Regions from separate parts of the Homo sapiens genome. Here region 2 is linked to region 1. Evidence: promoter capture Hi-C in 16 types of primary human blood cells and fetal thymus (Javierre and others, 2016). All regions are on one chromosome and are shown on one strand. The core of a region is centred on a gene start or on the middle of the fragment in contact, and the rest is flanking DNA. Distances in the headings are between cores, read along the strand shown. Region 1 holds the start of ZNF653 (zinc finger protein 653). Region 2 holds the start of YIPF2 (Yip1 domain family member 2).

Region 1 (5,154 bases), core at 591-3,090:
TGTTGGGGCTGGGGAGTGGGCTGGCACTACCCTGAGGGTGCATGGGAGAGGCTGGAGGAGGGAGACCGAGAGAGCCCTGGCCTCTGACCCCGCCTGCACTCCCCACCTTGGAGTAGGAAGTGGAAGAGACGCCGGAGGAGTGGAACCTCTACTACCCGATGCAGCTGGACCTGGAGTATGTGAGGAGTGGCTGGGACAACTACGAGTTTGACATCAATGAAGGTAAAAACTGGGCCAGGTGCGGTGGCTCACATGTGTGCTCGTAATCCCAGCCCTCCTACAGGCTGAGGTGGGAGGATCACTTGAGCCCAGGAGTTGAGGTTGCAGTGAACTATTATAGAGCCACTGCACTCCAGCCTACATGATAGACCCTGTGTCAAAAAAAAAAAAAAAAAAGGCAAAAACCTGGACAGGCAGGACTTCCAAACATTCCAAACACCACCCAGGATGAGGGGCGGCCTCTGGGGTCAAGGGGTAGGCCCAGGCTGAGACGCAGTCCACTTACACCCTCGTCCTCCGGCCGCACACACTCATTTGCCCCAGGGGCTCCAGACCTGAGGTCACCCAGCCCTGTTGGCCCTTGTTCATTCCCTCCCTCCTACAACTCTGTGCTGGCTACTGGGTGTCACCAGGACAAACCTAGTCCCTCGAGTCAGCAAGGGAACAGGCAAATTACACTTTGGGGAGCTTAGGAGAGGAGCATGCCTTGAGTGGGGGGTCAGGAGGCCTTCCTGGCAGAATACAGAAAAACCAGGAGTCATCGCCCGGGTGAAGTGTGGAGTGGGCAGCCTAGGCAGCGGGGCTAGCTTGTGCAAAGGTTTGGAGGCACAAGAAAGTGGAAGGAAGCCGGGCACAGTGGCTCACGCCTGTAATCCCAGCACTCTGGGAGGCTGAGGCGGGTAGATCATTTGAGGTCAGGAATTCGAGACCAGCCTGGCCAACATGGTGAAACCCCATCTCTACTAAAAATTTAAAAATTAGCCCGGCGTGGTGCTGTGCACCTGTAATCCCAGCTCCTCGGGAGGCCGAGGCAGGAGAATCACTTGAACCTGGGAGGCGGATGTTGCAGTGAGCCGAGATCTCGCCACTGCACTCCAGCCTGGGTGACACAGCGAGACTCCGTCTCAAAAAAAAAAAAAAAAAAAAAAAGGAAGTGGAAGGGAGTGTAAAATACCTCAAAAAGGTGTAGGCATGGGTTAGCCGCTGCAGCCCCCACTGTGCAAACCTTAAGGGTGCATGTCTTCCAACAGTGGAGGAAGGCCCTGTCTTCGCCATGTGCATGGCGGGTGCTCATGACCAGGCGACGATGGCTAAGTGGATCCAGGGCCTGCAGGAGACCAACCCAACCCTGGCCCAGATCCCCGTGGTCTTCCGCCTCGCCGGGTCCACCCGGGAGCTCCAGACATCCTCTGCAGGGCTGGAGGAGCCGCCCCTGCCCGAGGACCACCAGGAAGAAGACGACAACCTGCAGCGACAGCAGCAGGGCCAGAGCTAGTCTGAGCCGGCGCGAGGGCACGGGCTGTGGCCCGAGGAGGCGGTGGACTGAAGGCATGAGATGCCCTTTGAGTGTACAGCAAATCAATGTTTTCCTGCTTGGGGCTCTCTTCCCTCATCTCTAGCAGTATGGCATCCCCTCCCCAGGATCTCGGGCTGCCAGCGATGGGCAGGCGAGACCCCTCCAGAATCTGCAGGCGCCTCTGGTTCTCCGAATTCAAATAAAAAGGGGCGGGAGCGCTGTTGGTTGTGCGCATGCGCAGTTTCCATTCTTGGTCTCCTTTTGGCGCCCTGGGGCAGCGAGAGACCGTGAGAAATTTCTCGGCGGCGCCGAAGATGCGCGCCACTTCCGGTCTGGCTCCTAACAACGGGGGAGGCTGGTAACCAGGGTGGGGGGGATGGCGGAGCGGGCGCTAGAGCCCGAGGCGGAGGCGGAGGCTGAGGCGGGCGCGGGCGGGGAGGCAGCAGCCGAGGAGGGCGCAGCGGGCCGAAAGGCGCGGGGCCGGCCGCGACTCACGGAGTCGGACCGGGCCCGGCGACGGCTCGAGTCCCGGAAGAAGTACGACGTGCGGCGCGTGTACCTGGGCGAGGCGCACGGGCCCTGGGTGGACCTGCGGCGCCGCAGCGGCTGGAGCGACGCCAAGCTCGCCGCCTACCTCATCTCTCTGGAGCGCGGCCAGCGGAGCGGCCGCCACGGGTGAGGGGGCCTGGCCCCGAGGGAGGGAGGGAGGAGACGCCCCCAGACCCCGCCGGGCTTTACCCCGCCCCCTCCGCTTCTAGGGCCAGCCCCCGGCACCTGCGGACCCCGCCCAGGAGCCGGGCCGGCGGCCTGGGTCTCGTACTGCCTGGCCGGGACGCGCCTGGCTCGTGGCCCCGCCTCCCATCGTTCCGACTGCCCAATCCTAGGGTGCACCCAGCCCCTCGACCCGCCTTCTGAGCGCTTGGCCCCGCCCGCTAGAACTCTGGCGGCCCAATCCTGGGACTGGCCCCACCTCCAGGCCTTGTAACTAACCAGGCCCTGGGGGGGCAGCCCCGCCCCCTCACCGGTCTCATCCTCCCCCGCTTAGTTCCCCACCTGGCCTGGGACTCTGGACACCCTGGGGCACTCAGCCCTGCCCTTCTTGAAGTTCTGGTGCCCCATCTGGGACTCCGTATGGCCCCATTCCCACAACCCTAGATCCAACACATCCGGGGGACCCTTCACAACCTGGACTGCACTCCCCTAAACCTATTTCTGTGAAGCAACTCAGCCCAGGGAGACTCGGATGAAGAGGAAACCCCTAGTTAGCTTGGCAGGTGGAGGGCAGAGAGGCCTGTCTTTGTAAATTCTCAGTCTTGAGAAGGAGCAGTGTGGATGGAGTTTTTCCCTTCCTGCCTTATATGTTGATGTGATGATTGAGTTAAAATAGGCAAAGAGCTTAGAAGAGTGCCTGGCAGGTAGTGGGTTCCCTAAGTATTAACTTTTACGAGGATGACGTTTATTCCGTATCACAAGCAGTGCCGCAAGGAAATCCTTGTTCTGCCCTGGTTTTCAGGTACACATGTTCTCATGTTTCTCTGGGGGGAGATTCTGAGAGTCAAGAATCAAACAGATCCTGCTAAGTTATACCCACCCCTTTCCCAGGACAGCAGGCTGGCTTATATGCTCAAGAGCAGGACTGGAAATGCTGGGAGCGCAAAGATACCTGCCTCATGGAGCGGACATTCTGGTGGGCAGAGGGGATGGCTTGTTCAAAGGTCTGGGGGGTTTTTTTGTTCGTTTTTCTTTTCTTTTCTTTTTTTTTGAGACAGAGTCTTGCTCTGTCGCCCAGGCTGGAGTGCAGTGGCACGATCTCCGTTCACTGCAAGCTCCGCCTCCCGGGTTCACGCCATTCTCCTGCCTCAGCCTCCCAAGTAGCTGGGACTGCAGCCGCCCGCCACCACGCCCGGCTAATTTTTTGTATTTTTAGTAGAGACAGGGTTTTACTCTGTTAGCCAGGATGGCCTCGATCTCCTGACCTCGTGATCCACCCGCCTCGGCCTCCCAAAGTGCTGGGATTACAGGCGTGAGCCACCGCGCCCGGCCCTCGTTTTTCTTTTTGAGACAGGGTCTCACTCTCTCGCCCAGAGTGGAATGCAGTGGCATGATCACGGCTTACTGCAGCCTCAACCTCGTGGGTTCAAGTGATCCTCTTACCTCCGCCTCCTGAGTAGTTGGGACCACAGGTGCACGTCACTCCACCTGGCTAATTTTTGTATTTTTTGTAGAGACAGAGGTTTCCCTGTGTTGCCCAGGCTGATTTCAAACTCCTAGGCTCAAGTGATTCTCCGGCCTCAGCCTCTCAAAGTGCTGGGATTACAGGTGTAAGCCATTGTGCCCAGCCCTGTTTGTTTGTTCTTGAGACAGGGTCTCACTTTGTCACCCAGGCCAGAGTACAGTGGCATGTTCATAGCTCACAGCAGCCTCAACCTCCCAGGCTCAAGGGATCCTCCTGCCTCAGTCTCCCAAGTAGCTGGGACTACAGAGGAGCCACCTCACCTGGCTAATTTTTTAATTTTTCATGGAGATGGGGGTCTCGCCATGTTGCCCAGGCTGGTCACGAACTCCTCGGCTCAAGGGATCCTCCGTCCTCAGCCTCCCGAAGTGCTGGGATTAAAGTCATGAGCCACCATACCTGGCAAAAGGCTTGTTTACTGCAGACCAGAAACATAAGTAAATTGTATCGTCCATGAGAGATAGGGGCTACGGAAAAAACAAAAGTGAAATGAAGAGTGTGAGTTGGAAGTTTAAATAGGGAGTTAAGGTGGTCACATTCAGAAGATAGCATTTCAGTAAAGACATGAAGGAACCTAGGAGGAGCCATGCAGATCTCTGGGGAAGAGTTGAGGCAGAGGGAATAGCAAAGGCAAAGGTCCTGAGGCAGGACCCTGCCTATTGTGTGCCAGGAACACTGAAGAGGCTTGTGTGGCTGGACTGCAATGAGTGAGGGGGAGAAGGGAAGACAAGGACAGATTGGTGACAGGGAAGGTCATCCAGAGCCATGGAGAGGACTCCAGTTTTTCCTCCCAGTGAGGTGGGAGCCTTTTCTTAAGTGCAAGATTTTGTACAGAGAAAGAAGTGGTATGGTCTGCCTTTATTTCCCCTGATGCCCCCCCCACCTTTTTTTTTTTTGAGATGGAGTCTTGCTCTGTTACCCAGGCTGGAGTACATTGGCGCAGCCTCAGCTCACTGCAACCTCTGCCTCCCGCGTTCAAGCGATTCTCCTGCCTCAGCCTCCCGAGTAGCTGGGATTACAGGCGTGCACCCCCATGCCCGGCTAATTTTTGTATTTTTAGTAGAGACGGGGTTTCGCCATGTTGGCTAGGCTGGTCTCGAACTCCTGACCTCAAGAGGTCTGCCTGCCTCGGCCTCCCAAAGTGCTGGGATTACAGGTGTGAGCCACTGCGCCCGGCGGGGTTGCAGATTTAAATGTAAAGATGAAACCATACCCGGGCCTGGGCCTGGCCTTTTATTTCCTTATTTATTTGTTTATTTATTTTTGAGATGCAGTCTTGCTATATTGCCCAGGCTGGTCTTGAACTCCTGGACTCAAGAGATCCTCCCACCTCAGCCTCCAGAGTAGCTGGGACTACAAGTCACACACAGCCTGGTTTGTATTTTAGAAGAAACTGTCTCTAGGA
Region 2 (4,631 bases), core at 249-2,748, 580 kb after region 1:
ATTCTCTTGCCTCAGTTTGCAAACTGCTGGGATTACAGACATCACCATGCCAGGCCACAACCCAAACTTGAAAAAGAAAATCTAAGTGGCCTTAGAAGAGTTTGCAAGTCAGCTGACCAATGTGGTACCTCCTTAAGGAGGGCCTCTGAGGCCCGATGAAAAAGGCTTATATAAAAGGCTCATGACCAGCTCTGCCAGTGATGAACATGTGTCAAGTCGTTCTGCTGTCCCCAACTCCCGGACCCAGGTGGCTCTGAATTAGCTTCAGCTAATAAAGAACAAAGACGGGGGGCAGAAAGGCTCCCCAAACTTGTGCAAATCCAGTGAGAAAACACTTTGCACATCATCTGTCTCAGCTGTTCTGCAGGTGAGGCACACTCAGAACTGCACCACCCCAGGCAAGCAGTTTGCCAGGACTCGGGGGCCTCAGGGTTTCATCTCGGGGCCTCCGCCTGCACCAGCGAGTGGGCCTGGCTCAGGGCGAGCCTGTCCTTCTTCTCCTTCTGCAAGACCTGCTCCTCCCACAGCGCCTGGTCCACCTGATCGTCGGTGAGCACGACAGGCTTGTACTTCTCATCGAAGAGCCGCTCGTTGGTCTCGGAATGCAGCTGCTGGGGCCCGACCACCCGCAAATGCGCCGGCAGGTGCAGGAATTCGTCGTCGTTGATGTCGCAGTCGCGCATCCAGGCCCCCAGCACCCACCAGCGACCCACGAAGCCCACGTCCAGGACCCGGCCGGGGAAGTCGGTCCAGCGGGGCTGCAGGTAGCGGCAACGCGCCTGGTAGAGGCTGGCCTGGGCGTCGAAGGGCGCCTCGTACACCAGCGAGCAGAGCCCCAGGTTGACGTAGCGCAGGCGGCCACGGCCCCGCAGCCAGAGCAGCCTCTGCACGAAGGCTTCGGACTCGCGGTTGCGGGTGGCCGGCGCCAGCAGCAGGAGGGTCCCCGACGCCTCCAGCAGCGCCTCCTCGAAGGCACCCTCGCTGGGCGCCAGCGTGAAGCAGGCCGCCGCGCCGCCCAGCAGACCCACATACACAGCGGCGCGCCCCGGCCGGGCCCTAGCCTCCGCCGAAGCGTCCCTGCAGGCCTCGGCGTAGTCCCGGAGCAGCGCGCGGGCCCAGGACCCTGAGGGGAGAGGAGCGCGGTAAGAGTGATCCGGCCGCGGCGGCCACCCACCCTGTCGCGGCGGCCACCCACCCTGCCGCCTTCCGCCGCTACTCACCCAGCCGCGCCCACACTCCCGGCTTCGCCACTACCGCGTCGCCCGCCTCTGCGCGGCGCCGGGACCAAAATCTCCTCAGAGCCGCCGCGGCCATCCTCTTCCGTCTTGGGGGTCCTTGCTCCGGGAAGAAACTCCTGATACCCGACGTTAAGAGCCCGGGAGTCTCTTCTGCGCAAGCGCCAACTTTACCGGAAGTGGCTTCCCAACGGGAGAGGATAGAAAGAGGACAGGCGCCGGATGTTGCTGTCAGGTCTGAGTCGGTTGGAGTCTGACGGGTAGGCGAGACGCGCAGGCGCAGAGAGCCCCAGCCACGCCGGCCCAGGTGGCCTCAGGTGAGGGGGGGCGGAGCGCACCTGTGGGGACGGGACGACGAGTTCAAGCCTCCGTGGGTGCAGTTGGTCGCCAGGTAGGGCTGGGGGCCGAGGGACCGGCTCGGGGGCGGGGGGGAAGTGTGCCTGACCGGTCTCTGTCCTCAGCGAGGGATGCGGAGACGCCCCTGAACGACCATGGCATCGGCCGACGAGCTGACCTTCCATGGTGAGTGCGGCCCCGACGTGGCCGGATCTCCCACTCCCGCCCCGGGCCAGAACCTCCCCCCGATACGGCTTCCAATTTCTCTACCCCGAAGCCTAGGCGGCTGTGAACCCTGACCCAGGAGTGAGACCCATCTCTGACTCGAACCCCGCCCCCGCCCTGAACTCAGACCTCAAACCCGAGCCTCTCGTCCCCAGACCCTGACCCCATCCCAGCGTCAACCCTAAGTTGCAGTTCCACTTTAGGAGGAAGGGAACAGATGTCCTCCGGATGCCTCCAAACTGAGGAAGTTGGGCCCCACCTTGGGGGAGATCAATGGCTCAGCAGAGCCTCCGCCCCCAGATGAGCATCGGTTTAGCTTGGGCCCAGTCGAGTTCTTTCCACCCCTCAAACGTGCGTGTGTCCCATATACCTCCTCCACAGAATTCGAGGAGGCCACTAATCTTCTGGCTGACACCCCAGATGCAGCCACCACCAGCAGAAGCGATCAGCTGACCCCACAAGGGCACGTGGCTGTGGCCGTGGGCTCAGGTGGCAGCTATGGAGCCGAGGATGAGGTGGAGGAGGAGAGTGACAAGGCCGCGGTGAGTCCCTGTGTCCTGCCTCCTTGCAGCCCCCAGCTGACCCAGGCTCTCCGGGCAGGCACTGAATGCCCGCAATGTGCAGCTCCTGCAGGAGCAGCAGCAGCAGCAGCAGCCGGGATTCTGGACCTTCAGCTACTATCAGAGCTTCTTTGACGTGGACACCTCACAGGTCAGGCTGGGGAGGCAGGTGGGATGGGGCTCAGAGTTATGCTCAGGGTTCAGCCACTCTTCCCCTGGGCAGGGTGCTGGTGATGGTGGGTGCTGGTGAACGAACTGTGGTGCTCTCAAAGGGTTATGGTGGGACTGGTTATGGATCGGGACTATGGGAACACAGGGGACACACACAATCTGGTGGGTTAGAGAAAGGCCTCCTGGGGGAGGTGAGGAATTGGCTGAGACCTAAAGGAGACAGAAGGCTTCCCTGGGGAATAGGGTAGGGAAGCAGGAGTATATGTTCCAGGCACAGGGAACAGCATATGCAGAAGACCAAAGATGGACTGGGCGCAGTGGCTCCTGCCTGTAATCCCAGCACTTAAGGGGGCCGAGGTGGGCAGATAACCTGAGGAGTTCAAGACCAGCCTGGCTAACATGGGGAAACCCCGTCTCTACCAAAAATACAAAAACTGCCGGGTGCGGGGTGGCTCATGCCTGTAATCCCAGCACTTTGAGAGGCCTGGGTGGGTGGATCACCTGAGGTCAGGAGTTTGAGACCAGCCTGGCCAAACATGGTGAAACCCCGTCTCTACTAAAAATACAACAAAATTAGCCGGGCTTTGTGGTGGGCGCCTGTAATCCCAGCTACTCTGGAGGCTGAGGCAGGAGAATCGCTTGAATCCGCCAGGCGGAGGTTGCAGTGAGCCAAGATCGTGCCAGTGCACTCCAGCCTGGGCAAAAAGAATGAGACTCTGTCTCAAAAATAAAATAAGATAAATAAAATAAAATTAAATAAAAAATAAAATAAAATAGAAAAATTAGCCAAGTGCAGTGGTCGGCGCCTGTAATCCTAGCACTTTGGGATGCCGAGGCGGTGGATCACTTGAGGTCAGGAGTTGGAGACCAGCCTGGCCAACGCGGTGAAACCCCATCTCTACTAAAAATACAAAAATTAGCCAGGCATGGTGGCACACACCTGTAGTCCCAGCTACTCAGGAGTCTGAGGCTCGAGAATCACTTGAACCTGGGAGGCGGAGGTGGTAGTGAGCCAAGATCGTGCCACTGCACTCCAGCCTGAACAGAGTGAGACTCTGTCTCAAAAAGAAAAAGGGGGTGCTGAGGCCGGGTGCGGTGGCTCACGCCTGTAATCCCAGCACTTTGGGAGGCCAAGGTGGGAGGATCATGAGGTCAGGAGATCGAGACCATCCTGGCTAACACGGTGAAACCCCATCTCTACTAAAAATACAAAAAATTAGCCGGGGGTGGTGGTGGGCGCCTGTAGTCCCTGCTCTTTGGGAGGCTGAGGCAGGAGAATGGTGTGAACCCAGGAGGCGGAGCTTGCAGTGAGCCGAGATGGCACCACTGCACTCCAGCCTGGGTGACAGAGCGAGACTCCGTCTCAAAACAAAAAAAAAAAGAGGGAAAAAAAAGAGGGGGCTGGGAACGGTGGCTCACGCCTGTAATCCCAGTACTTTGGGAGGCCGAGGTGGGTGGATTACCTGAGGTCAGGAGTTCGAGACCAGCCTGGCCAACATGGTGAAATCCCGTCTCTATTAAAAATACAACTATTAGCCAGGCGTGGTGGCACACGCCTGTAATCCCAGCTACTCGGGTGGCTGAGGTAGGAGAATTGCTTGAGCTCGGGAGGCAGAGGTTGCAGTGAGCCGAGATCATGCCACTACTCCATCCAGCCTGGCCGACAGAGCAAGACTCTGTCTCAAAAAAAAAAAAAAAAAAAAAGAGAGGGAAAGGCTGAGTTCTTTCAGGTGGGGCATGGAAAGAGAAGGGTGGAGGTCAGCAGGGAAGGAGCCTCTCAGGACAAGGGAGAAGCTCCTGGCAGACTTCCATCCTTGACCTTGGCCTTGCCCCCAGGTCCTGGACCGGATCAAAGGCTCACTGCTGCCCCGGCCTGGCCACAACTTTGTGCGGCACCATCTGCGGAATCGGCCGGATCTGTATGGTGAGTGAGGTTGTGCATTTGGTTCCTTGATGGATCACTCAACAAGTGTGGCCTGAGTTGCAGATGCCAGTGTATAGCTGCGGACAAATCAGTCACTCAGACAGTGTGACTTACCTGCTGTTCAGGGAGACAGAGACATGAAGGACTGCAGAGGGTGGCGGGTAGAGAGCAGCAGAGCAG

The links. The method cuts DNA at HindIII sites, captures the fragments that hold promoters and counts their contacts. A CHiCAGO score of 5 or more calls a contact.
Region 2: a contact is called between the fragment with the promoter of YIPF2 here and the fragment with the promoter of ZNF653 in region 1, in 1 of 17 cell types (neutrophils). The highest score is 7.5, in neutrophils.

Annotation. Positions count from the first base shown.
Region 1 is chr19:11,502,525-11,507,678 of GRCh38, reverse strand. ZNF653 (zinc finger protein 653) reads left to right here and starts at 1,840. Exons shown (of 9, transcript NM_138783.4): 1 at 1,840-2,191. The coding sequence starts at 1,893. ECSIT (ECSIT signaling integrator) reads left to right here. Exons shown (of 8, transcript NM_016581.5): 7 at 117-222; 8 at 1,251-1,750. The coding sequence ends at 1,495. RefSeq lists enhancers at 1-222, 2,675-2,744 and silencers at 1,645-1,694, 1,855-2,524. The HindIII fragment of the contact is 17,773 bases long and covers 1-5,154 here.
Region 2 is chr19:10,925,506-10,930,136 of GRCh38, reverse strand. It overlaps YIPF2 (Yip1 domain family member 2), which reads left to right and starts at 1,498. Exons shown (of 10, transcript NM_001321439.2): 1 at 1,498-1,626; 2 at 1,697-1,757; 3 at 2,178-2,338; 4 at 2,421-2,507; 5 at 4,364-4,451. The coding sequence starts at 1,727. TIMM29 (translocase of inner mitochondrial membrane 29) reads right to left here and starts at 1,326. Exons shown (of 2, transcript NM_138358.4): 1 at 1,221-1,326; 2 at 1-1,123. The coding sequence starts at 1,314. The coding sequence ends at 435. RefSeq lists silencers at 881-930, 971-1,250 and enhancers at 1,464-2,164, 2,165-2,867. The HindIII fragment of the contact is 36,725 bases long and covers 1-4,631 here.